6 separate regions of the Homo sapiens genome follow, and all the other regions are linked to region 1. The links are contacts of gene promoters, found by promoter capture Hi-C in human tissues and cell types (Jung and others, 2019). All regions are on one chromosome and are shown on one strand. Each heading gives the region's core, a stretch centred on a gene start or on the middle of the fragment in contact. The rest is flanking DNA. Distances are from core to core; before and after follow the strand shown.

The links. The method cuts DNA at HindIII sites, captures the fragments that hold promoters and counts their contacts. A contact is called where the count stands out against the background at its distance.
Region 2: a fragment that was not itself captured here is called in contact with the fragment with the promoter of TFF2 in region 1 in 1 of the 25 tissues and cell types used here (lymphoblastoid cells).
Region 3: a fragment that was not itself captured here is called in contact with the fragment with the promoter of TFF2 in region 1 in 2 of the 25 tissues and cell types used here (H1 embryonic stem cells and lymphoblastoid cells).
Region 4: a fragment that was not itself captured here is called in contact with the fragment with the promoter of TFF2 in region 1 in 5 of the 25 tissues and cell types used here (IMR-90 fibroblasts, adrenal gland, hippocampus and 2 more).
Region 5: a fragment that was not itself captured here is called in contact with the fragment with the promoter of TFF2 in region 1 in 4 of the 25 tissues and cell types used here (IMR-90 fibroblasts, lymphoblastoid cells, mesenchymal stem cells and 1 more).
Region 6: a contact is called between a fragment that was not itself captured here and the fragment with the promoter of TFF2 in region 1, in 1 of the 25 tissues and cell types used here (lymphoblastoid cells).

The regions. Positions count from the first base shown.
Region 1 is chr21:42,349,678-42,353,942 of GRCh38, reverse strand. TFF2 (trefoil factor 2) reads left to right here and starts at 2,949. Exons shown (of 4, transcript NM_005423.5): 1 at 2,949-3,064; 2 at 3,913-4,062. The coding sequence starts at 2,986. It overlaps LOC105372815 (a long non-coding RNA gene), which reads right to left and starts at 1,650. Exons shown (of 3, transcript XR_937755.3): 1 at 642-1,650. The HindIII fragment of the contact is 10,226 bases long and covers 1-4,265 here.
Region 2 is chr21:42,209,641-42,213,755 of GRCh38, reverse strand. It overlaps LOC105372814 (a long non-coding RNA gene), which reads left to right. Exons shown (of 3, transcript XR_937748.4): 2 at 2,882-2,971; 3 at 3,190-4,115. It also overlaps a transcript of ABCG1 not described here. Among named protein-coding and RNA genes, the nearest start is that of ABCG1, 7.4 kb to the left of the region's middle. The HindIII fragment of the contact is 4,311 bases long and covers 1-4,100 here.
Region 3 is chr21:42,565,908-42,570,197 of GRCh38, reverse strand. It overlaps SLC37A1 (solute carrier family 37 member 1), which reads right to left. Exons shown (of 20, transcript NM_001320537.2): 16 at 3,140-3,213; 17 at 1,760-1,838. Among named protein-coding and RNA genes, the nearest start is that of LINC01671, 47 kb to the left of the region's middle. RefSeq lists an enhancer at 3,586-4,290. The HindIII fragment of the contact is 4,706 bases long and covers 342-4,290 here.
Region 4 is chr21:42,526,904-42,530,960 of GRCh38, reverse strand. The region is part of intron 3 of SLC37A1 (solute carrier family 37 member 1); the gene reads right to left. It overlaps LOC107987299 (a long non-coding RNA gene), which reads left to right. Exons shown (of 2, transcript XR_007067878.1): 2 at 2,136-4,057. Among named protein-coding and RNA genes, the nearest start is that of SLC37A1, 15 kb to the right of the region's middle. The HindIII fragment of the contact is 7,112 bases long and covers 1-4,057 here.
Region 5 is chr21:42,507,731-42,512,056 of GRCh38, reverse strand. It overlaps a transcript of SLC37A1 not described here. Among named protein-coding and RNA genes, the nearest start is that of SLC37A1, 4.0 kb to the left of the region's middle. The HindIII fragment of the contact is 5,149 bases long and covers 1-4,326 here.
Region 6 is chr21:42,158,432-42,162,338 of GRCh38, reverse strand. No RefSeq gene overlaps it. Among named protein-coding and RNA genes, the nearest start is that of UMODL1-AS1, 52 kb to the right of the region's middle. The HindIII fragment of the contact is 8,913 bases long and covers 1-3,907 here.

The DNA.
Region 1 (4,265 bases), core at 1,700-4,199:
GTGCTATTTGGGTTCCCCTCCCTGTGCTGTAGTCTGGAGAGCGTCTCCAGGAAACCAAGGCAGCCATGGGACTCCCCCTATTGTTTCCCTTCTCTCAGGGATCGCTGTCTGGCACTGCCTGCTGCTCAGCATCTGCAGACTGTTACTTATGTAGTTTTAGAGTTACTCATGGTGGGAGGCTAGCCTGGTACCAGTGACTCCATAGTCAAAAGCGGAAGTCCACATGGGTGATAGCTGAGGTGGTTCCCATTTGTTGACTTTCTATGTGAACTGATGGAAAGTATCATCCCCAAAGTGTGCAAAATGGAAGTGAGCAGGGGTGGAGAAGGATAAACAGAAAGAGGAGGGCGCCAGCCCTGAGTGCCTGGATGGCGCTGAGATCATGCGTTGAGAGTGGCAACAATTCAAGGTAGGTGTCGGCCATGCTAGGCAGATGGCATAGGCACAGAGACAGTGGGAAACAGCAGTGAGGAAGACGGTGGGTGAAGTGAGCACTGTGGAAATCAGGCTGGAGAAGCAGGAAGGAAGGATAGACAGGAGGGGGCTCACAGGGGAATAGGGGATTGGAGGGCTTTAGGATTCAGACAAAGGGAGAATGTTAGGAGCTTAGGACATCCTGGGCAGAAAGGACATTTGCATACCCTCTTTCAGAGGTGGAGCTCAAGTTCTGAGTGTGGTCATGGGAGGGTGGCAGAAGTGGCAGAAGTGGAGTGGAGATGGAAGTTCCTAGAGATGAGGAAAAATAAAATCTGAGCGACTGTGAATTTTGATGAAACATCGACCGCCATGTTGAAGATGGCTGGGATGTGGCCAAGTCTTAGCATGACAAGGAACACAGTGAACTCAGTGCTGAAATTCTTAACGAAAGGGACAGGCTGCACAAAGGTCGGCAGATGACAGCAGGGCAGGGACTCCGGACATGGCGCCCTTCCCAGCCTGCATCTCCAAGGAGGATGGTTTTTGCATGAGGGTGAAGACTTGGGGCTCAAAGTCAATGTCCAGCCCCCAGTCTGAGCCCATGTGATGGGGACGTGGCCACCAAGTACAGTTGTGGAGGTTGTGAACAGCTCCACTTTCAACTAGCGATGCCACTCTATTGCAGACGTCCCATCTCGTGTAATGGTTTCCCAACTCTGTGGGCACTCAGTGTCCCTGCGTGGGGGCCTGAGCAGGATTCCAGGGAAGCATGCCTATGACAACACAGGCTTCCGCCAGGGCCAGGAGAGTGAGAGAGGCTGAGAAGTGGTCTCTTTTGCATGGGTCAGGTGGTCGCAGCAGGAATCCTGAAGGGGCTGCAGTGAGCGGTGGGAAGTCGAGTTGATGGGGAGGAAGCAGAGAGGAGAGGTGGGTGGGAATATGAGAGAAAACAATGACTCAGTCACTTATATCATGATGGTGACTAAAGTGACAGGGATGTAGAACAAGGAAACTGACCTTGCCAGAGTTTTCATGGATCGAGTCCCTGTGGTTGCCCAGTGGTGAACAGTCAGCAGAGAGCCTGGAGGTACTTGACCCGGACCCAGAGGAGCCCTGGAGGATGGAGCCTGGAGGACGGGGGCCTGGAGAATGAGGGTCTGGAGGACGAGGGTCTGGAGGAACAGGGGCCTGGAGGACGAGGGTCTGGAGGAAGAGGGCCTGGAGGACAGGGGCCTGAAAGATGGGGGCCTGGAGGATGAGGGTCTGGAGGATGAGGGTCTGGAGGAGCAGGGGCCTGGAGGATGAGGGCCTGGAGGACAAGAGCCTGGAGGACAGGGGCCTGAAAGATGGGGGCCTGGAGGATGGGGCCTGGAGGATGGGGGCCTGGAGGACGGGGGCCTGGAGGATGATGGCCTGAAGGATGAAACCTGGAGGATGGAGCCTGGAGGATGGAGCCTGGAGGATGAGGGCCTAGAGGATGGGGGCCTGGAGGACAGGGGCCTAGAGGATGGAGCCCTGGAGAATGGGGGCCTGGAGGATGGAGCCTGGGGGACGAGGGCCTGGAGGATGGGGGCCTGGAGTATGGGGCCTGCTCTCCAGACCCTGAGGACAGCCCCGTGGTGGACCAAGGATTTTGGGTTTCCTGCGTCTCTGGGCCCCTGACTGCTCAACCATCAGAAACAGACTGGCAACCCCCTGTCATTTCCCTGGCGTGGGGAACTTCGGGTCCCCTCTGTCCTTCCCACCACACTTTTCCCTCTTTCTTTCCGGGTGTCTACTCTCTGGCTTCTGTCTTCTCTGTCAGGTCCACAGAATCCTTCTCCAGCACATCCTACCCCAGGAAGGCCATGGGCTGGGTCCCAGGTGCCATCTTTCAGAAGATGTAGAGCATTCCCATGGAACAAAAATAACCCATTTCAGGGGTTGGCTGAAAATGAACTTATTAAAACCTGCCTGTCACAGGCTACTCCGCTGACCCTGTCAGCCTCATCTCCATGGAGAGCAGCCCCTCCTGCTGAAGATGGGACAAAGGGCATCGTGCTGCGGTTGGGGAGGCTCTAACCACAGCCCTGGGAGCAGTCTCTTACCTCCTCTGAGATGCTTCCCTTCCTCAGGGAGGGGACTTTTCCATGCTATCTGCTGGCCTGTACATTTTCCCCAGTAAACTTGGCCCTAATATTTTCTAAATTCCTGTGGTCCCTGCCCACTCTATCAATAGAAATGCATAGCTTATCCCTTCCTGGGTGTGACCCTGTGTGTGCCCAGCCCCAGACCTGCACGTGGCCGGTTTTCCACGCTGGCAGCCTGGCATGACCCAACTCTCTGTCCAGGGCAGGAAGAGGTATCACCGAGCAGGGAGAGAGTCACCCTGGCCCGGAAGCCTCGCCTGCACAGGGCACAGCTGCCTCTTGCCTCCTCTTCGCCTCCACGGTGGAAGGGCTGGGGCCACGGGGCAGAGAAGAAAGGTTATCTCTGCTTGTTGGACAAACAGAGGGGAGATTATAAAACATACCCGGCAGTGGACACCATGCATTCTGCAAGCCACCCTGGGGTGCAGCTGAGCTAGACATGGGACGGCGAGACGCCCAGCTCCTGGCAGCGCTCCTCGTCCTGGGGCTATGTGCCCTGGCGGGGAGTGAGAAACCCTGTAAGTGAAGGAGAGGGTCTTTTTATGTGCTTTCTTTATTTCTCTTAAAGAAAAAAAAAAAGCACAACCATAAATTAACTTGAGAGGGGGAATGGCTATAAAGGCATCTGGCAATGTGTGTTGTTCACATGGGATTTGCCACTGCTCAGGAGGGTGGCTCCAAGAAGGGCCTCCCTCCTAGGGAAAGGCTGAGTGACGGCAGGTGTCAGCGGGCCCCGTGTCGGGCCAGGAGGGCATTCCCACCAAGGGTCCTTGGAGTCCCAGAGCACTCACCTCTCGCCTGGATCTTGGCCTTGGGTCCATCTGTTCACCCTCCTCTAGGAGGGTTTTGTTTTTGTTTTTTTCCGAGACAGGATCTGGCTTTGCCGCCCAGGCAGGAGTGCAGTGGTGTGATCTTGGCTCACTGCAACCTCTGCCTCCCAGGCTCAAGTGATCCTCCCACCTCAGCCGCCTGAGTAGCTGAAACCACAGTTGTGGACCATCATGCCCGGCCAATTTTTTTTTTTGTATTGTTTGTAGAGATGGGGTTTCGACATGTTGCCCAGGATGGTCTTGAACTCCTGAGCTCAAGCAATCTGCCCGCCTCGGCTTCCTAAAGTGCTGGGATTATAGGTATGAGCCACCATGCCTGGCTTTTTTTTTTTTTTCCTTTTAAACTAATATAACAATTTCAGCAAAGCCCTATCGGCTTCTCAGGAGGAAACCGCATTGCTTAAATATGGGCAAGATAAGACTTTGTGTTTCTCTATGTGGCAACAAGACAGTAGAGGCATCCCCTAGAACCTCTGAGAGAAGGAGCAGTGTGGTCTGGGGTACCAGGGTGGGGCCGACTGAGGGTCTTTCCACAGCCCCCTGCCAGTGCTCCAGGCTGAGCCCCCATAACAGGACGAACTGCGGCTTCCCTGGAATCACCAGTGACCAGTGTTTTGACAATGGATGCTGTTTCGACTCCAGTGTCACTGGGGTCCCCTGGTGTTTCCACCCCCTCCCAAAGCAAGGTAATCTTCCAGGGAATCTTCCTGGGCCAGCAGCTGGCAACCCAGGACCCAGCTTCACAGGCGGAGCCCAGAGCAGGGGCCGGAGGAGGCCCAGTTGCTAGTCTAGGGTTAGCCTGGGTGGGTTAGTCTCGAGCTAGCCCCGGTTGGTTAGTCTGGGGCTAGCCCAGGTTGGTTAGTCTAGAGCTAGCCCAGGTTGGTTAGTC
Region 2 (4,115 bases), core at 696-3,195, 140 kb after region 1:
AACCCAACAGGGCAAAAAGCATTATATCTTCTTTGACTCCATGGTCCCACCTTCTGAACACTCTAAGGAGGGACTTAGGCCCCCAGGGCTCTGGGTGGCACCTCCTACATGGGTTTGCTGGGCACAGCCCATACTGCAGCTCTCATGGGCTGGAGTCTCCTGCCTGTGGCTCTCTCAGGCTGGAGGTGCACGTCAGTGGCTCTGCTAGTCTGAGGTCTTCAGGTGGCCCTGCCCCCACACCTCCACTGGGCATTGTCCTGGTGGGGGCTCTCTGCAGTGGCTCTGCCCCTGTGGCAGTTCTCTGCCTGGACCCCAAGGCTCTCCAAAGCATCCTCTGAAATCCAGATGGAGTTAGCCATGCCTCCATAGCTCCTACCCTCTACACACCCATGGAGATGGCCCTGCACAGAAGCCCAAGGTTTATTGATTGTGCCCTCTGAGGGAGACACACTGCAGCAGGTGCCGAGGTCCTGCAGGCACTCCAGGCACCTCTGTGGGCATAGTTCTGTCCCCCAGACCTCGGCACCCTGGGCCTGTGATGGGAGGGCAGCAATAATAACCTCTGAAACACCTTCAGGGTTATGCCGTCACTGTCTTCATGCACAGCACCTGGCTTCTGCCTGTCCATGCTAATCTCTGCCTGAAACGCTAGTTTGGCTACACCCTTGATCTTCTAAACATGCTTTTTTATTCTTTACAGTATGGTCAGGCTGAGAATATTCTGCAAGTTCTGCCTCCTTTTTGACTATAAATTCTGTCTTTAGGCCAGGTGCGGTGGCTCATGCCTGTAATCCCAGCACTTTGGGAGGCCAAGGCGGGCGGATCACGAGGTCAGGAGATCGAGACCATCCTGGCTAACATGGTGAAACCCCATCTCTACTAAAAATACAAAAAATTAGCCGGGCATGGTAGCGGGCACCTGTAGCCCCAGCTACTCGGGAGGCTGAGGCAGGAGAATGGTGTGAACCCGGGAAGCGGAGCTTGCAGTGAGCCGAGATTGTGCCACTGGCAACACAGCAAGAGTCCGTCTCAAAAAAAAAAAAAAAAAAATCTGTTTTTAATTGATTTCTTCCCTTCTCACATTTTACCATAAGCAGTGGAGAGAAGGTAAGCAGTGTCCTCAAGACATGGTTTAGAGTGTTTCTTCCACCAAATATTCAAGTTCATCCCTTGCCACTCTGACTTTCACAGAACATGAGGACACAAACAGTTCAGCCAAGTCCTCTGCCCTCTGTCACAAGAATGGCCTTTCCTCCCGTTTCCAGTAACACGTTCCTCATTTCTGTCTGACACCTCAACAGAGTGGCCTTTACCATCCATACTTCTATCAGCATTCTGATCACAGCCACTTACATAATCTCGGAGGCTCTGTGTCTTCTTCTCAGCCCTCACTAGGATCACCCTTTATGTCCACTCTTGGCAGTCCAGGCCTTTTGAGCCTGTTCCTCTAAACTCTTCCAGCCTCTGCCCATTATCCAGTTCCAGAGCCTCTTCCACATCTGCAGGTCTTTGTCTCTGCAACACTCTGCTTCTTGGTACCAATTTCTGTCTCAGTCCATTTGGACTCCTATAACAAAATACCTTAGACTGCGTAACTTAAAAACAACAGAAATGTATTGTTCACACTTCTAGAGGCTGGGAAGTCCAAATTCAAGACGCCAGAAAATGCAGTGTCTGGAGGCCTGTTCCTCATAGGTGTGCCTTCTGTGCCCTCCCGTGGTAGAAAGGAAAGGGGCTCCTTTCAACCTGTTTCAAACCATTTAATAAGTTCGTCAATCCCATTCCTCATGGCCTAATCACTTCCCAAGGACCGCATCTCTTTTTTTGTTATTGTTTTGTTTTGTTTTGTTTTTTGATTTTTGTTTTTAAGACAGAGTCTTGCTCTGTCACCCAGGCTGGAGTGCAGTGGCACAATCTCGGCCCACTGCAGCCTCTGCCCCCCAGATTCCAGCGATTCTCCTGCCTCAGCCTCCTAGGTAGCTGGAATTACCAGCGCATGCCACCGTGCCCAGCTAATTTTTTTTTTTTTTGTATTTTTAGTAGAGACAGGATTTCGCCATGTTGGCCAGGCTGGTCTTGAATTCCTGACCTCAGGTGATCCACCTGCCTCGGCCTCCCAAAGTGCTGGGATTACAGGCATGAGCCACCAGGCCAGGCCCAGGATCGCATCTCTTAATGCTGTCACTATGGGTATTAGGTTCTAACATATGAATTTGGGGAGGATACCAACATTTGGATCATAGCAGGGAGAAAGTAAGGAAGGAAAGAAGAGAGGTAGAGACAGAGAGAGGAAGGAAGGAGGAAGGGAAAGGTGAGTGGAGAAAGGAAGAAGAACAGGAGCAGAGGAAAACCATGCCTTAGCCCTTCAAGCAGAAGCCTGGGAAAGTGGGTCAGACACAGAGACCATGTCATCAGGGAGGGCAGCAGCATAAGGCTGGTTGGATACACCAAATAGCAACTCTGTGTGTTGGTTCATTTGAAAGAAATGGGAATGCTGAGGCCAGGTGCAGTGGCTCACACCTGTAATGCCAGCACTTTGGGAGCCCGAGGCGGGCGGATCAGGAGGTCAAGAGATTGAGACCATCCTGGCCAACGCGGTGAAACCCTGTCTCTACTAAAAATACAAAAATTAGCTAGATGTGGTAGCACATGCCTGTAGTCCCAGCTACTCCAGAGGCTGAGGCAGGAGAATGGCATGAACCTGGGAGGAGGAGGTTGCAGTGAGCTGAGATCACGCCACTGCACTCCAGCCTGGGCAACAGAGGGAGACTTGGTCTCAAAAAAAAAAAAAAAAAAGAAGAAAGAAATGAGAATGCTTAATCTCCACTGTTTGTTTCCTATTTTGCTGGCACTCTTGACTTCAATGGTATTCTGTCTCCAGCATCCAGATACGCTCCTTCGCTTCCTCTGGTGAGCCAGCCCAGCTATAGAGAGGACCCCTTCTTCACCAAGCACACACAGCCTGTGGGAGGTCAGTGCAAAGGAGGGGCCATGAGATGAGGGAAATCAAGGAGGCAGGGAGGTGCAGGGTGGAGGGAGGGGGGCGGCAGATGCCTGGAAGCTATGGTGGCAAGACAGATGATGAGAGATGGTTTCAGGGGAAAAACTGCAAGTAGATATTTCATAGATTAAGTTAAGACAAGACAAGTTAAGTATTACAGACAAATTCCTTTTGTTTTCTTCCATTAGCATGGAATCAAGAGTGGCTGGGAAAGATCTAGGAAACCATTTCTTCAAATGAAGAAAGAGTAAATAACATCTGGCCCCAAGATGACCTTCAAAGTTGAAGATTAAGACAGAAGTCTCAGAGACAGATACCGGAAAATTACTGGAGGCCTCCTTCCCACAAATAATTAAAAGCTTCCCATCACACCCATAACAAATACCTGCTAGGAAGTAACTGGAACCACTGTGTACCCCACGTTTCCTCCAAGGAACCTCCCACCCCTGACTCCGTGTGGTCAACCATAGAACTCAACCCCCACCTGGAGCCTCCCAGAACATTCCATCCCTCTGGCCACTACTGATGTTCTGGAAAAGATACACAACCCAGCAGGGCCATCAGAGTTCTCGCAGGGACTTCCTGGACCCTAAGAGGGAGAGGGTTTCTTTCCCTGTTCCCTTTTGGCATTGATGTAAGGAGAGTGTTTGTCTGGCTAGGAATTAAGTAAACACCCCCAGGGAAGTAGAGCCGGAGACGAAGGAAGTGACAAAGCCCTTTCATCAGCCCTTTCATCGCTGGAGCCCCTACATCCTGCCCTCCCGAGTTCACACCCATTGTCCATCATTGGCCCTTCCCAAGTGGCTGGGCAACCATTTTTAACTTTTGATAAGTGCTGGGCCCCAGAGCCAGATGGCGGCTCTTTAAACAAACTCGTTCTTCTCTGTGCCCCTGTGACCTCAGCTATTAAGCGGGCTGATGATCCATCCTGTTCACCTCAGAAGACTGTTTCAAGGATGAGAGGTGTCAGCATTTGAAAGCCATGGCCGGCACATAGTGTGCATCTTATAAATGCTGGTGCTCACTATTATTATTCTTTGTTACGGGATCCTCTACTCTCCCTTCTGACCTTGAACTAGTATGAATTAGATTTCAGTCACTTGCAGCTAAGAAG
Region 3 (4,290 bases), core at 1,445-3,944, 220 kb before region 1:
CCAGGCCATGTGTCACATGGCAATGGCCACCCTGCCCGCCGCTTCTCAGAACCAGGCCGTGTGTCACATGGCAACAGCCACCCTGCCCACCACTTCTCAGAACCAGGCCGTGTGTCGCATGACATGGCAACGGCCACCCTGCCCGCCGCTTCTCAGAATCAGGCCGTGTGTCACATGGCAACGGCCACCCTGCCCGCCGCTTCTCAGAACAAGGCCAGAACAAGGAAACGCAGAACAAGGAAACGCAGCAGCAGCAGCGTGGAGCTGGGGTTCCCGCCACCCAGGGCTGGGCGGGGGCGCCTGGGGCCTGTCCGGCCTGGCTCCTCACTGTGCAGTCAGCCGCCTGGGCCCCGGCTGCGATTCTAACTGTCTGGGAGCAGCTCATTCAGTTCACTGGGATACAGCAAAGAATCAGGCAAATCCCGTCCTCCTGGAGCTTCCGTTCCAGTGGCAGGAGACAGAGGAGACAAAACAGAGGAGTGCACCGAATCCCACTGCGGATGGGGAGAGCGCTCCAGAGAACAGACCCGGGAGAGGGGCCTGGAGGCCGAGTCGGAAGGGTTCACGCGTTCTCAGCAGGGTGGTCCCAGGAAGTCTTGCTGAGAGGATGATATCTGGGCAAAGACTCAAGGCACGAGGGAGTGCGGCACGAGGGAGTGCGGCACGAGGGAGTGCGGCACGAGGGAGTGCGGCACGAGGGAGTGCGGCACGAGGTCACCTGTGGGGACCTTCCCAGGCACGGGGTGTGACCAGAGCAAAGAGCCCGCACGGGGGCCAGCCTGGCCTTCGGAGGAGCAGCAGGGAGGCCATGTGGCGGGAGGGCTTTGCATTCTGCATCACTGAGACAGCAGTGGGCACCCAGAAACGTGCTGTGATGTTTCCAGCCTGCTGGCACCAAGGCCAGGGGCAGCCAAGAACAACATCAGCTCCCTGCACGAGCCAGTGGGAAGGCTCCAGCACCAGGTTCTGGCTGACCTGGGTCTACCGAGCCACCTTCATCTACCAAACACTCGGCTTTACTGGAGACCCCCACGCAGCAAGTGACACACAGGTTGGCACCCCAGGTCCTCCTTATTAGCTGTGACAGCCACACCAGGCAGCCCCCCATAACGTCCCCCATGTAGGAAGGACCCTCCTGATCTTCACCTGGCAGGTGTGGCAACTCCTGATTTTCGCCTGGCAGGTGCAGCCACTGTGCGTGCTCCCCATACAAGGGCTCAGGGAAGGCCACAGCCGTGCCGTCAGGCTGCACATGGGCGAGGAGACTGGCACTCTGCCAGCTCCACCTGCCTGCTCCCTAAGGGGATGGCTTGCTTATTCTGCCACCTTTTTAAATTCCAGAATATGCCACTGAATTCTCTTCAAGAGCTTCGACGATGCTGGTAACACTCAGAACCCTGTATGATTTTGGACCAATTGGTTTTTCTGTAATTTAAATAAGATTCTGCCTTTCTTGAGATGAAGGCGATAAATAATGAGTGGACCTGAGTTAGCCCACGGGCTGTAGTTTGCCAACCACTGCCTCGGGTGAAAACCTGGACACGCACAGCTAGTCACACGCCCGTCTCTCTGAAGCCACCCAGGCATGCGTGACCATCTCTGTGTGCCGATGTCCCCTGCTCATCTGCTCGTATAGTAAGAAGCCGGCCCACCCAATGTTATAGATGCAGTTGGAACCCTGGGTACCTGTTCACGAGCATGTGACAATGTGATTTCCCCTAAGACACCAAACCTCCCAGAGCTAAAACTCTCTGCGCACCTACAGAGCCCGTCCCGTCAATGATGGCCGTCACGGTGGAGAGGGCGTGCGCGTTGCCTTTCAGACTTTTATGAGTCCCCTAGAAGAGAGGAAAAACAGACGTGCAGTTATCGCCACAGCATGAGAAGTAAACCTAAGCCTCTGTATGACCATTTACTCAAACTGCTCTGCAAAACAACTCATCGTGAGGGTGTTTCCCATTATTTAAACTCCACCCCAAGCTTGCCTTGGAGAGTTAAAACTTCAAGGGTTTTTAAGAGTCAAAAGTCATCAGAAATGCTTGGTTCTAGTTACAAGAACTCTTAGGATTCTCTTCAAATAAAAAACGTTTGTTCCGCACAGTCCTGCTCCTCCCTGAGGCCCCAGAGCAGCCAGCGTGAGAGGCGTGAAGGTGCGCAACGCGCGCCCCTGCCCTGAGCTGCGCCGGCCTTCCTTCCCAGACACATCCACGTGTCTGCTGGATTCCTCGACAGCCAGGGCCTTCCTGGGACCCCTGTCAGATGTCTCTGCAGGACCTAAAATTCAACCTGATCAATAGCAAACGCCAGGGGAAGAAGGGAGGAGGGGAGAGCTGAGAAACCAAGGCTGGCGCAGGTCCTCGGTGAGCAGCCGCCAGGAGCTCTGGTTTTGAAAATGTTGCATAGACAATGGGAAAAAAGCCAAAATGAGGACAATAGGAGGGGAAAAAGATCAGGGGAAACAGTGCCTAGAAGCCTAAAACTATAAAAATGAACCAGCGTTCAAAAAAATAAATGCTTGTATATGCACGTAATATGTATATAAAATAAAGAACACACAATATGAAAATCATCCAGAACCTACGTATTTTGAAGTCTAAAAAATAAGTGAAAGTCTCTCCTCTGCCTCTACCCCGTGAAGGCTGACCATTGCTAATGGTCTGATGTGGATCCTTCCAGAATTTTCCATGCCCATGTAGACACAAGTCTGCATGCTCACGCACACTCAGGCAGTTTCAGGACACGTCCAATACAAAGGTGACCAAGGCAGGGCATGGTACCTGGATGAGAAGGGCCGAATCCCCCAGCGCCTCTTCGTGGCCCCTCTCTCTCTGCAGAGGCGTCCAGGACAGGACCTCTCCCCTGCCCCCTTGGATTGAAAAGGCGCCTGAGTCATGAGGATGGCGCCCAAGAGCCTTTTGTTGTGCTGAACGGTGAGTTTTGCACCAACCTGCCCATGATTTTAGGAGAAGGGTGAGCAGCGGGGCAGGTGCGGGAAGGCTGGAGACCACAGGTGTAGGTGAGCTGCCAAAAACGTGCTTCTGCAAATGCAGTTTTACTAACAGTAATGGAGGCCACTTTTGTCATGAATGGCACATGGCAGGGTGCCCACAGGGCTGGTGTCTCTCCCGGTTCTACTCACCAGGTCGGCGGAGACGGCGGTGGTGATGAGTGTGTAGGGCCCACTGACCAGGGCTCCGCTGAGCAGCAGCATGGCTGTGGGAGGCAGAGGGGCAAAGAATGGAAATGTGCCCTCCAGAGAGCCCCGCATGCATAGGAGCAGCCTGAGGTGGGCGCCTGGGGAGCACAGGGAGGGGATGCAGCAGAAACAGCTTCCTCTAAACTTGTCTAGTGAGGAGCTAAAGCAAATCATACCCTCCCTAAGACTCAGGCTCATCCACCCTCGAAGGGCAGCAGCTGCCACCATGAGGGAGCGATCACAGGCCGGACCCTGGGCCTGGGCTGACCCCTGCTTCATCTGCAGCAGAAAGGCCTTCCTCTCCTCACCCACAGCTGCTGTGGTGCTCGCTGAGGGCAGACCCCCACCCTCTCTCCGGACCAGGTCATTTCCTAAACTCTCCTCTAGGCTCACACTCAGGTGAGGAAGCTTCTGGCCTGAGGGGGGGTCACAGGAAATTCCGCTTCCTCTCCTGTGGGCAAGCTGCCTTCTGGATAACATTTAAGGGGACCACACATCCCCACTGCTGGCTCATTAGGACAGAAAGCATACTTCTAAGTGCTGGAGGCATAGTTTGATAGCGCTGCCTGCAGGGTGTTCAAAATAGTCCTCCAAGGTTACGCAACCGCTCCTGGAGGGGCAGCTGACAAAGCTGGGAGGAGGTGGCTGGGGGGCCACCTGCCCTGGCTCCTGGCCGGACCCTGTTCAGGTCACACCGCCAGGTTCCTGGCTACCTGACGTGGCCCAAGAGCCAGCCTGAGCTGCTCTCACCACCAGGGGTGCAGGGTGCAGGTGGCAGGTCGCAGGCTGCTGCAGCCCCGCCAGCCCCACCAAGGCCCCAGGAGGGGCTGCCCTCAAGGTCACATCTGGCTTCTCCACTGAGTGCCCAGGGCCACTGCCCCAGACCAGGCTTGCACACTTCCAGCTCACAGTGAAACCCACAGAATGGCAAGCCTCGCACTGGGGAGAGGAGACCCCGGCCTCTCCAGATGGTCTTGCCCAAAGGAGGACACGGACAATTTTAGCCACACCATGTGCTCCAGTTAAACCAGCTCAATGCGCCTGTTGATTTTAGTATTTCATCTTGCCAGCTGTGTGAACTTTAAAAACGTGTG
Region 4 (4,057 bases), core at 1,195-3,694, 180 kb before region 1:
CGCCTGCATTCCATGAAGGCTCCGTTCTTTCCATGCTGAATTTGAGCCACTTCGCAGACAGAAGTGGCCCTGGGTTCTCAGCCCCACCTAAGTTGCCTAAGACTACAGCCACGCGACACATTCTCTGCAGCAGGTACGTGGCCTCCAATAGAGGAGATTATCAGGCAGTCTGGAGGGTGCAGGAGCCACTGAAAGGCAACAGTGAGAGGACAGGACAGGAGCAGGGGATTCAGGCCTCACTGAATCCCCCTGGAGGACAGTGGGGTTAGGCCAGTTTCACTCCACCTTCAGCCAACACAGAGGGGGTGTGTGTGTGTGTGTGTGTGTGTGTGTGTGTGTGTGTGTGTGTGTGTGTGTGTGTGTGTATCATCTGCATTTGACGATCTGTCTAGTCAACTTTACGTGGCTCATTAGGCTGTGTGGGTGCACTGATTCTAACCAGTCCTTCACATTCCTTTTATAAGGCTACAAGAATTCTCCAAAGCATTATCTAAGTCCTGGAAGAGCAATTACAGTTTTGGTACCAAAAGTAGGAGCGACCAGCCAGGCTCTCCCCCACAGACAACAGCACCTGCCCACGGCCAGCCTCCTGCGATGAGTCACAGGTGCCACGTGAAATGCATTATACACACTCAGGGACAGACACGCAAATGCTCCACTCATGAAGGATACAGAAATAGATGGAGGAGCTTCTTGGTCATTGTTTACTTCTCAAAAATGGAATCATTCTATACATCCTTATGCACATGTTAACTTCTTACTCAAAGTACCTCCTGGAAATGTTTCTGAGTCAACTGGTTTGCCTGTGATGAATTCTTTTAGGGACCTGCACATTTCATAATACGGACTTGTGATAATTTATTCAAACTTTTACCTACTTATTAGGTTCCCTTGATATCCAGCATTGTTTTTTTTTCCTTTTTGCTTTTTTTGGTCACTACAAAGCTGCCATAAAGATGCTTATGAAGATATTCCTAAGTAAGGTGCTTTTATTTTTAGGGTGAAATTCCCAGAAGTATGTCTGAAGGCTGTAGTGTTTTTTATTTCACTGGGTGTCACCAAAAGGCGCTAACGCTTGACATCCCATCAAGAACGCATGAAAACTCCTCTCCCCTCACGACCAGTGAATAGCGCTTACTGCCCTGGGCAATGCTGTGCCAGCCACTGAGCACAGTGTTGCCTTAATTTGCATATGGAATACCGGCAGACTCGAACACCATTCACATATTTCCTGGCGATCTGAATTCCGTGTCTGTAAACTGCTTGTTCATCCCCCTTGCCCGTTGTTTCTTTGGGTTTCCTAACTTCACACTCACTCCTACGATAAACATAATTTTCTTCTTGGATTTGTACTTTTTGTATTTTACATTCATGTCTTTAATCCATTTATTTTATTTTACTTTTTTGAGATGGAGTCTCACTCATGTCACCCAGGCTGGAGTGCGGTGGTGTGGTCTCGGCTCACTGCAACATTCGCCTCCCAGGTTCAAGCGATTCTCATGCGTCAGTCTCCCAAGTAGCTGGGATTACAGGTGCCCGCCACCATGCCCAGCTCACTTTTGTACATTTAGTAGAGATGGTCAGGCTGGTCTCGAACTGCTGACCTCAGGTAATCCACCTGCCTCGGCCTCCCAAAGTGCTGGGATTACAGGTGTGAGCCACAGTGCCCGGGCCATTTGTTTTTATAAAATAGGGATTCAACATTTATTTCTTCCTGACGAATAACCAGTTGTGCCGACACCATTTATTAAATTTATTAAATAAGCTCTGTCAAATATTCCATATTTTCTAATCTATTCTACTGACTTTTTTGTCTATTCTCATGTAATATCATAATTTGATTATGGTATTAAAATATGTTAATCTTTTGCATATTTTCATATCATAAAATGTTATCTTTACACTTTTCTTGATAATTCCTGGACATTCTTTCATACAAACTTTAAGATTATTTTATTCAATTAAAAAAAACCCTGCTAAGATTTTCACTGGAGTTGCATTTTATTTAAATATTAACACTGGGAGAATTGGAACTTTCCAAATAACAAGTTTCCCACCCATAGTACATACTTCCAGCTTTTCAGACTTTGTTTTCTGTCTGCCACTGAGGATTATTTTATTTCATTTTTTTTTAGATGGAGTTTCACTTTGTCGCCCAGGCTGGAGGGCAATGGTGCGCTCTCGGCTCACTGCAAACTTCGCCTCCCGGATTCAAGCTATTCTCCTGCCTCAGCCTCCCCAGTAGCTGGGATTACAGGCGCCTGTCACCATGCCTGGTTAATTTTTTTTGTATTTTTAGTATAGATAGGGTTTCACTATGTTGGCCAGTTTGGTCTTGAACTCCTGACCTCAGGTGATCCGCCCACCTCGGCCTCCCAAAGTGCTGGGATTACAGGCGTGAGCCACTGCGCCTAGCCAGTTTTCTCCTTTTAAGTCCTGTGTGTCCAGAGAGGGGTGGGCACACTCACATTCAAATCAATGCTGCCATCCCCCTGGCTCCAGGGACCCCTGCAGTTTAAGCTTCTCCGGGAAGCCTCTGCTTTCAGGTTTCTTTTCTGGCCCAGTCCAGGTGAAAAGAGCTCGCACTAAGATCTCTGCTGGGAGTCAGACTCACCTGTCTACCAGCTTGGGCAGACGCTTGCCTTGAGTCCTGAGGCTAGGCCACAGCTGGAGCAGCAGATAGAAGGGACAGGGTTGCACTTATAACACCACTATCCTCCCAGCCCTGGTTTTATCATCATCATCGAGAAAAATACAATTAATCAGCAGTGATCAAAGGTAAGTCTAAACATTCCATTTAACTAACTTAAATGTGACCTGGTGTGCCGTGTCATTCTATAAATGACATAACAGAATAAGACTCACTTTCTAATTCACAGCCTCTGGTTCAATTTCAAGTAAGCAAATACATTTTGCTTTGGTTTTGCTTACAATATTCTGGGAAATGCAGGCTATAAATAATCACTCAACTGTTTTGTGGGTCAACAGAATCACTACTACTTTCAGTTTCGTTGATGCCATTTATATCATGAGCTCAAGCACACGGGCGCTTCAGAAGGCACTATAAAGTTTAGTTTTGATGTGGTGTGATGTTCTGATCTATCTTGAAAGGTAAAGAAACCCACAGGATTCAGCGTCAAGCCAATCCATGCCCAGGCACATCGCAGCTGCTAGGTCAGGAAATCTGTGCGTTTAGGAGGCTCTGAGGGTGATGCTGGGACTGTACTCAGGTAATTAAACCCGGACAAACCCTGAGGCACAGAGAGGATGAGTAGGGGCCCTGGAGGCAGCCTGACCCACAGGGAATTCTCGAGTGTGTGGCAGCCCTGCCTGGGGAACGAAGACCCGAGCCTCAATTTCCTCACAGGGGCACTCGCAGGGTTGCTGTGAGGATCACAGGGGTAATGTATGTGGCAGTTTGTCATACCCCAGGGCTCTGTAAGCGGCAGTTATTTATATTGTTACTTATGACACTGAACTAAGAGCTGACCCTGACGCCGCCTCCTCAGAAGCCCTAAGTCTTGAGTGGCCTGGACACCACTACACACGAGAGTCAGGGGCGGGGGCTTTGAGATGGACCACCAGGAAAGCCGGGAGAGGGACCGGGACAGGGCTCCCACTTGCTCCTGGCTCACAGGGGCCCTCATAGTCATCAGGTGGACCCCAACAGCTGTGGCCTGACAAAGATTCCCCCAAAGGCCAGCCCACCTTACACGCTACATCTGCCCCAACAGCCCCCCAGCCCAACAGGTGGTGCCTTCATGGAGATGCCCATCCCTGCACGTAGCACTCAAGGCAGTTCTCCCACCTGTAAAGCTGTTTTTCTTCCCCTACAATCCACACCCAACCTTTCTAGGTCAATCCTGAAACCCCACACAAGCTCCCCAACTACACCAGATCCTTCAACTCCAACACGCTCACCAAGTCTCTTCAATAGTCACTTCCATCTTTATAATTTACCATTTTCTTGAGCTGTTTGTATATTTCTCTAACCAGAAAGACAAGAAGTAGTAGTATTCAGATTTATAATGACTGGTTACTGGTACTGATTTGAGAG
Region 5 (4,326 bases), core at 1,261-3,760, 160 kb before region 1:
TCTATTCTTCTTGCAAATTTCAAGTATACAATGTATTATTACTAACTATACATTAGAGCTGTACATTAGCCCTCCAGAACTTACTCATCTTTCCTAAGTGAAACTTTGTACTCTTTGGCCAGCGACTCCCCATTTCTCCCACCTACTGCCCCTGGTAACCACCATTATTATATGCTCTGCTTCTCTGAGTTCAAGTTTTTCAGATTCCAAAAATAAGTGAGGTCATGCATATTTTTCTTTTTTGTTTGTTTGTTGGTTTGTTTTGAGACAGGGTCTTGTTCTGTTGCCCAGGTTGGAGGGCAGTGGCGTGAGTGCAATGGTCAAGGCTCACTGCAGCCTTGATTTCCCAGGCCCAAGTGATCCTCCCCCTCAGCCTCCTGAGTATCTGAGAATACAGGCCCATGCCACCATGCCCAGCTAATTTTTTAAATTTTGTAGACACAGGGTCTTGATATGTTGCCAAAGCTGGTCTTGAACTCCCAGGTTCAAGCAGTCTTCCTGCCTTAGCCTCCCAAAGTGCTGGGATTAGAGAAGTGAGCTACCATGCCTGGCCTATATTTGTTTTTCTGTACCTGGCTTATTTCACCTAGTGTAATGTACTCCGGGTTCATCCATGTTGTTGCAAATGACAGGAAATCCTTCTTTTTTAAGGCTAAATAGTATTCCATTGTGTAGATACAGCTATACACCACATTTTCTTTATAAACTTCCCTCTAGTACTGCTTTTGCTGCATCCCATACGTTTTGGTATGTTGTTTCCATTTTAATTTGTCTTAAGGAATTTTCTGATTTCCCTTTTGATATCTTCTTTGACCCCACTGGTTGTTCAGGTGTGTATTTAATTTCTGCATATTTGTGAATTTTCCAATTTTCCTCCTGTTACTGATTTCTAGTTCATGTTATTGTGGTCAGAAAAGATACTTGATATGATTTTAATCTTCTTAAATTTGTTAAAACTTGTTTTGTGGCCTAACATATGATCTATCCTAGAGAATGTTCTGTGTACATTTAAATGTGCATTCAGCTGCTGGGGGAAGGAGTGTTCTGTATGTCTGTTAGGTCCATTTGCTCTAGAATGTTATTCAGGTTCACTGTTTCCTTATTCATCTTCTGTCTGGATCATCTATTCATTGTTGAAAATGGGGTACTGAAGTACCCTGCTATTACTGTATTGCTATTTCTCTCTTGAGTTCCGTTAATATATATTTAGGTACTCTGATGTTGGGTGCATATACATTTATAATTGTTATATCCTCTTGATGAATTTATCTCTTTATCATGATATAGTGACTTTGTCTCTTATGAAGTTTTTGACTTAAAGTCTGTTTTGTCTGATATAAGTATCTTTTTTGCTCTCTATTTGGTAACCATTTGCATGGAATATCTTTTCCCATGCCTTTACTTTCAGCCTATGTGTATCCTTAAAGCTGAGTCTCCTGCAGGCAGCACCTAGATTTTTTTTTTTTAATATCCATTCAGCCACTTCTATCTTTTGATTGCAGAATTTAATCCATTTACATTAATTATTGATAAGGACTTACTACTGCCATTTAAAAAATTGCTTTCTGGCGGTTTGTAGTTCCTTTGTTGCTTTGTTACTCCCTTACTATCTTCCTTTCTAATGTGATGATTTTTGTAATGGTATGCTTTGATTCCTTTCTCTTTACATTTTGTATATCTGCTGCAGGTTTTTGTTTTGTGGTCACTATGATGCTTATATAATACATTTTAGGCCAGGCGCTATGGCTCTCGCCTGTAATCCCAGCACTTTGGGAGGCTGAGACGGGCAGATCATGCAGTCAGGAGATCGAGACTATCCTGGCCAACATGGTGAAACCCCATCTCTACTAAAATACAAAAAATTAGCTGGGCGTGGTAGTGTGTGCCTGTAGTCCCAGCTACTCAGGAGGCTGAGGCAGGGGAATTGCTTGAACCCAGGAGGCAGAGGTTGCAGTGAGCTGAGATCGCATCACTGCACTCCAGTAATAAAACATTAGCTGCCTACAGAAATCCTACACTTTAATTTTTCCCCACCTCAACTTGTATGCCATCAACTTAAGGAGCAGACATTCTCCCAGAGAAGGCCAAGGCAAAGCCAGTGACAGGCCTTGACTGACAGGGAACTGAGGTTTCCCTGAAGGGGGCTTTGAAGATACTGGGCTTCAGAGCTCAAGAAAATACCTCATGCTTAGAAAGCATTAGAGCATTAAACACTATTAGAGAGAAAGAAAAGGGAAAATCAGAACCTGATTACTTAACATGGAGAAAAGAAACTCATTTTATCTCCACTGATCAAAAAGCAAGAATTCTAATGGTATGGTGCACTGACTGGCGAGGAAGGGTGATTTATATTCAGTTACTAGTGTTGTTGATAAGAAATACAATGAAAAGCCTCTGATTATTAAGCATGCTCTGTATTCCAGGCATTGTGCTCGGCCTACGGATATAAAACTGACAAGAGTCCACACACTGAAGAACTATAACCCAATCCAGCAAACATAATTAGGTGTGAAGGAGTAGGCGTTCCCAGTCCTACAGGAGCCCAGTGAGGAGACTGGCCACGGCCCCCTCCCCATGCCACACTTCCAGTTGCAGTACTTTTGACTCGCTTCCCAGTCGATTCACGTATGAAAGCTCTGTTTCCTCCAAAGAATTCTCCTCCTTGATCGTGAAGAACGGGCAGCGGCCATGAACAACAATGACTGAGTCACCGTGGGTGGGACAGACCTGTCTGTCCTACAGCATCAGGGGAAGTGGCAAGGGATGTAAGAGAACTAGATGTTGTCTCTAAAACCAGAGGTCCATAGAAAAGCTTTAAAATTGGACATAAAAATCATAGTTTACTCATATTATTTAGAAATATAGGGAACTACCAGAAGAAATGGGTAAAAGAGTAGAAAATGGTAGGGGAATGAGACAGAGGAGTTGAAGGGATAAAGCCAGGCCCGACTGTTTGTTGTTATATACCTTTAGTATCATTTGATTTTAAAACTATTGGCATGATATTTAAAGAAATATCAACATAAAGACAGAAGGCTGTGCTTAATTTAGGTAATGGCATTTTAGTGGTAGAATTTTAGACACTGTGATACTTGAATTAGAGACATATTGGAGGAGAGGAGCTTTCAAGTGTCCTGAAATAATAAGGGGACAAACACCCATTTATAAGGGTGGTTCTCTTTAAACTACCTGTATAAAATAGGCAAATTTTCTTGCTTCTAAGACCCCTTGGCAGTGTTTCCCAGCAGAGTAACTTTCTTGCTTTTCTTCTATATGTGTAGCAAGGGAAATAGTAACTGAGAGAGTGCTCACGGGTATTTGGGGAGTAAACTGGATTCTAACTGAAGTAGGACTTGATAAAGGCTTGAATCAGATTCAGGGACTCACATTTCTTTCAGTGAAGCATTCCTCTGTAGCTGAGCTCCACTCTGGGGCTAACTTGTTGCCTGAGCCCATCTGTTGTAAATTCCTCTTGAGTTTATGCCTATAGGTAGAATGAGGTCAGGTATGTGGAAATAGGAAACTGACCCATCAACTAAGGAGTCATTCTTGCAGTTGAGCTAGTGCAAATACATGAGATAAGCAAGTTGGAAAATTTTTATGGGGTCTGCAAAAAGACATACTCTTAGGCCAGGCACGGTGGCTCATGCCTGTAATCCCAGCACTCTGGGAGGCTGAGGCAGGTGGATCACCTGAGGTCAGGAATTCGAGACCAGCTTGGCCAACATGGTGAAACCCTGTCTCTACTAAAAATACAAAAATTAGCCAGGCATGGTGGCGGGCACCTGTAATCATAGCTACGGGGGAGGCTGCGGCAGAAGAATTGCTTGAACCCGGGAGGCAGAGTTTGCAGTGAGCTGAGATTGCGCCATTGCACTCCAGCCTGGGCAACAGAGCGAGACTCCGCCTCAAAAAAAAAAAAAAAAAAAAAAAAGAGCGTACTCTTCAGTCCAGTTATAGTTTGGTAAACTGTGTGGCTTAAATCAAGGGGCTGTTCTTTAAAGTTCCCTCTGGGCCAGCATTTGATGATTTATGGACATGGTACTTTTCTTCTAAACAAACACTGTCTGATGGGAGAATGAAATTACTCATATCCTCTTTATCAAACTGATATTGTTTGGGTATTTGTCCCCTCCAAATCTCATGTTGAAACTTGACCCCCACTGTTGGAGGTGGGACCTAGTGGGAGGTGTCTGGGTCATCGGGGGAGATCTCTCAGGAATGGTTTGGTGCTATCCTCTCAGTAGTAAGTGAGTTCTCACTGTATCAGTCCCTGTGAGCACTGATTAGAAGGAGCCTGGCACCTCCCTCCATGCTCTCTCTCTT
Region 6 (3,907 bases), core at 736-3,235, 190 kb after region 1:
CATGGGAGTCTTCCCCAACTTACCCCTGCACAGCCATGCAAGCCTCCCCCCACTCACTGCTGCCCAGCCATGTGTCTCCCCCCATTCACCCCTGCACAGCCACACAAGTCTCCCCCGACTCACCCCCGCACAGCCACGAGTCTCCCCACACTCGCCCCTGAACAGCCATCTGAATCTGCCCCTCACTCACCCTCACTCCACTCTGTCCTGACAAGTCCGCCTACAGAATCCGTGGCTGTGATGGTCCTCCACCTCACCGGTGGCTCTGAGCCTTCCACTGGGTCCCCCCCTCCCTGCTCCCCTTCTCTGGGCTGCTGGATGCTCTGCTCCCCTCCCCCGCTCTGCCACTTCCTCTGTCTTCTCTCAGGCGTCTCCTGGACTCTTTGTTTCTTTGTCTAAGAAAAATAAAATTGGGGAAAGGCAGCCTTCCTCCAGATATTGTTGGAGTGAGGATATCGTAACTATTTTGAAAACTCAAAGGGGCTGATGAGGGGGATGTGTTTGGCGGTGTTTGTACAAACAGAGAGGCCTGTGGAAGGTGGGGGCTGCGTACAAAGTGTGGCCTGTGTGGCCTCAGGGCGGCATGTGTGCCTGTGTGTGAGGCTCTGTGTGTCTGTATGTGGCTGTGTGTGTCTCTGTGTGTGTGTCTGTATGTCTTCTGTGTGTGTGTTTCTCTGTGCATATGTCTGTATGTGTGTGTTTGTGTGTGTGTGTGTTTCTCTGTGTCTGTGTGTACCTATGTGTGTCTCTGTATATGTGTGTCTCTGTATATGTGTGTCTGTGTGTCAGTGTGTGTATGTGTTTGCGTGTGTCTCTCTGTGTCTCTCTGTGTGTGTCTGTGTGTATTCGTGTGTGTGTGTCTGTGTATATGTTTGGGTATGTCTCTCTCTGTGTTTCGTTTGTTTTTTTTTTTTTTTGAGATGGAGTCTTGCTCTGTTGCCTGGGCTGGAGTGCAGTGGTATGATCTTGGCTCACTGCAACCTCTTTCTCCCAGGTTCAAGCAACTCTCCTGCCTCAGCCTCCTGAGTAGCTGGGATTACAGGCATGCACCACCACACTCAGCTAATTTTGTATTTTTAGTGGAGATGGGGTTTTACCATGTTGGCCAGGCTAGTCTCGAACTCCTGACCTCAAGTGATCTGCCTGCCTCAGCCTCCCAAAGTGCTGAGATTACAGGCCTGAACCACCGTGCCCGGCCTGTGTATATTTCTGTGTGTGTGTGTGTGTGTGTGTGTGTCTGTGTGTGTATCTGTGTCTGTCCGTGTCTTTGTGTGTCTGTGTGTTGTGCATGTGTAACCCGCTGAGGTCAAATACACACACACTTGGTAGCCCATGCCAGTGAGTCATTGTCACCTGAAGCCCAAGGCTCCTGAGCGGAGATGTCTCAATCATGTTTGCAAACTCATTGACAAATCTGTGATGTTTCCAGCCGGGGCTGCCTGAGAACAGTTCTTGCCCCAGCTTACCGCCCACCGCCCTAAATTTCTCTGGACTATAAGGAACTGTGGGTCCTTGTGCCACAGTGACCTTGTTGTCTCCAAAAGGAGACCTGAAAACGGGGGTTGGCAGGAGGGGGGTTGGCAGGAGGGGGGTTGGCAGGGGGCAGAGGCCGGGCTGAGCTGCTGGAGGCCGAGTGGGAAGGGCCCATCTCTCCCCTCCATCTCTGCTCCCGAGCGACCCTCAGGCCAGTAAAGCTTCCTGGAGAACGTCTGGGGGCTAGAGCCACTCAGGCTCCAGGACTCAGAGAGGCATCCAACATGTCCCCAACACGGGTTGCCCCCCTGGCCTGGCACCGGACACGCACTCAACAGCTGTGCTACCTCAGTTACTGCCCCGCGGCTCCAGGGAGGGCATTTCCTTCCGAGGTGAGGATGTGGGGAGGGCCCTCACGCTGGCTCAGCAGCCCCCTACCCAGCCCCTGCCACGGCGCCTGCAGAGTGAGCAAGCACGGGGGTCAGTGCTGCACTCTGCCCCAGCGCGTGTCCACTGATTTCACACTCCAAGTAGAAGAAGAGGCAGAGGAGGCGGGGGCCTCCCAGGATGGGGTGCCACCACCTGGTGGGGGTGGCAGGGACAGGAGAGGAGCCCCCGCCTCACAGCCACCAGGGCTCCGGATGGAGCAGGAGGGCAGAGGGTGCCACAGGCGCCCGGGCTCCGTGGGAACCACAGCCTCCGTCAGAGGAGCTTGCGGCTGGCACTGAGTGTTTTACGATCATGATATGGAGTATTCTGTGGTGGTTTCAGGGCCACGATGGAATGGCTGTGCTGGTGCCAACATTCACCAGGCGTGGAGACTCGTGTCAAATGGGCATAGCCCTGAGAGTGCCCATGTGGACTTGGACACAGGGAAAGGGCCTGCCCCTGCCTGCCTTTGGAGGCCACCAGCCAGCACCTCCATCATCACGATGACCTCACTTGGCATCTCTGGGACCCGTAGGGTGTCCCCTCCAACCCCCCACTGTCATCCCATGATGAGCTGCACCTACGTGAAGTGAAGGAACCCCACATGGCCCCCAGTGCCCCACCATGATGGAAGCCCACACAGACGGCTTCCATGCCTTGCTGACTGCACTGGGGCTCCCAGAGGACTGCCTCCCGATTAACTGCCTCACCTGTTTATCCTCTGAGCACCCCCGGCTGCAGGATCGTGGCTCCCAGGGCCCCCTGGGGGGAACACTAATCTGCCCCCTCTGAGTCCTGGGTTCCACATCCCTCGTGCATCTGCAGAAAGAAACTCCTCTGTCAAGGATGTCAGGTGCCTGCTGTATTGAAGCCAAAACGGTCCAAAGGGCCCTCCAGTCATAGGAGCTGAGACGTGGCATTCCCCAATGTTCCCCACCCATGTGCCCAAGCGTCTTCATGTGCCAGGACCCAGGGCCCCTTCAGAACCATGTATCCATCAGAGCTTTCCCTTCCTTTGTCTGTTTCCTTCTGTGTCTGGGAAGAGACCTAGCTCTGTATTCAGTCAAGAACAATCCCAGCTCCTTAAGTGAATATTCTGTTTGTTCTATTGAGTGAATGTTTATTGAGCATCTACTACGTAGGAAATGTGCTAGATTCTGGGGCACAAACGGAGAGTTTTATGGCCCCACCAACGAGGCAGCCAGGGGCCAGTCCTAAACACAGAGAAGCAAGCACGATTCCCACAGGGTGCAATGGGGGAAAACCCAGGACCCCCAGAACACAGAAGGGCACTGACCCAACCCAGAAGCCAGGACAGCCTCCTGGAGAGAACAGCTTCCTGGAGAGAATAACTGCTGGGCCGTGCCTGGGGGACCAGTAGGATGGGCCAGGCAAGGGGAGAGGATGGTTGGGATGGGTCATCCCATGCTGGGCAGAGGGCATCGGTGCAGCAGGAGAGCTCTGGAAAGTGCTCGTGGCTCAGAGGACGAGAGCACAAAGTGTGGGGCCGGGAAGGTGAGGCTGGCGGGGTGGGGGTTGCAGGGGGTAGGCAGTGGTGTGCTGGCAAATGTTTAACAACAGGCTCTCTGCAGAAAAGACGTGTGTGTAAACATCTGTACGTCAGTCCACTCTAAGTTTTATTCATGCAAAGGAAGCACGCAATTTACAAATAATAAATATACAGGACTTTTTATCATAAATTCCATAGAGCCAACTGGTCCACACAGATGCTTTTGTTGATTTTGGCCAAACTCTCATATTTGTAGCCAGCCTATAGCTGCAATTCAACTACGATTTGACAACGTTTTATGCTATTTACAGTGTAACAGTTATGACCATAGCACACTTGTAGATTAATCTGCGTTCATCGAAGATTTTCATCATTTCCTTGAGTCTAGATAATCAATAAGACGATAAAATCAAGCCTCGATTTGTAGCACATGCTGATTTCCGTGACGTAAATGCTCTTGCGATGGTTGGTTCAAGCTGTGGACACGACGAAGCT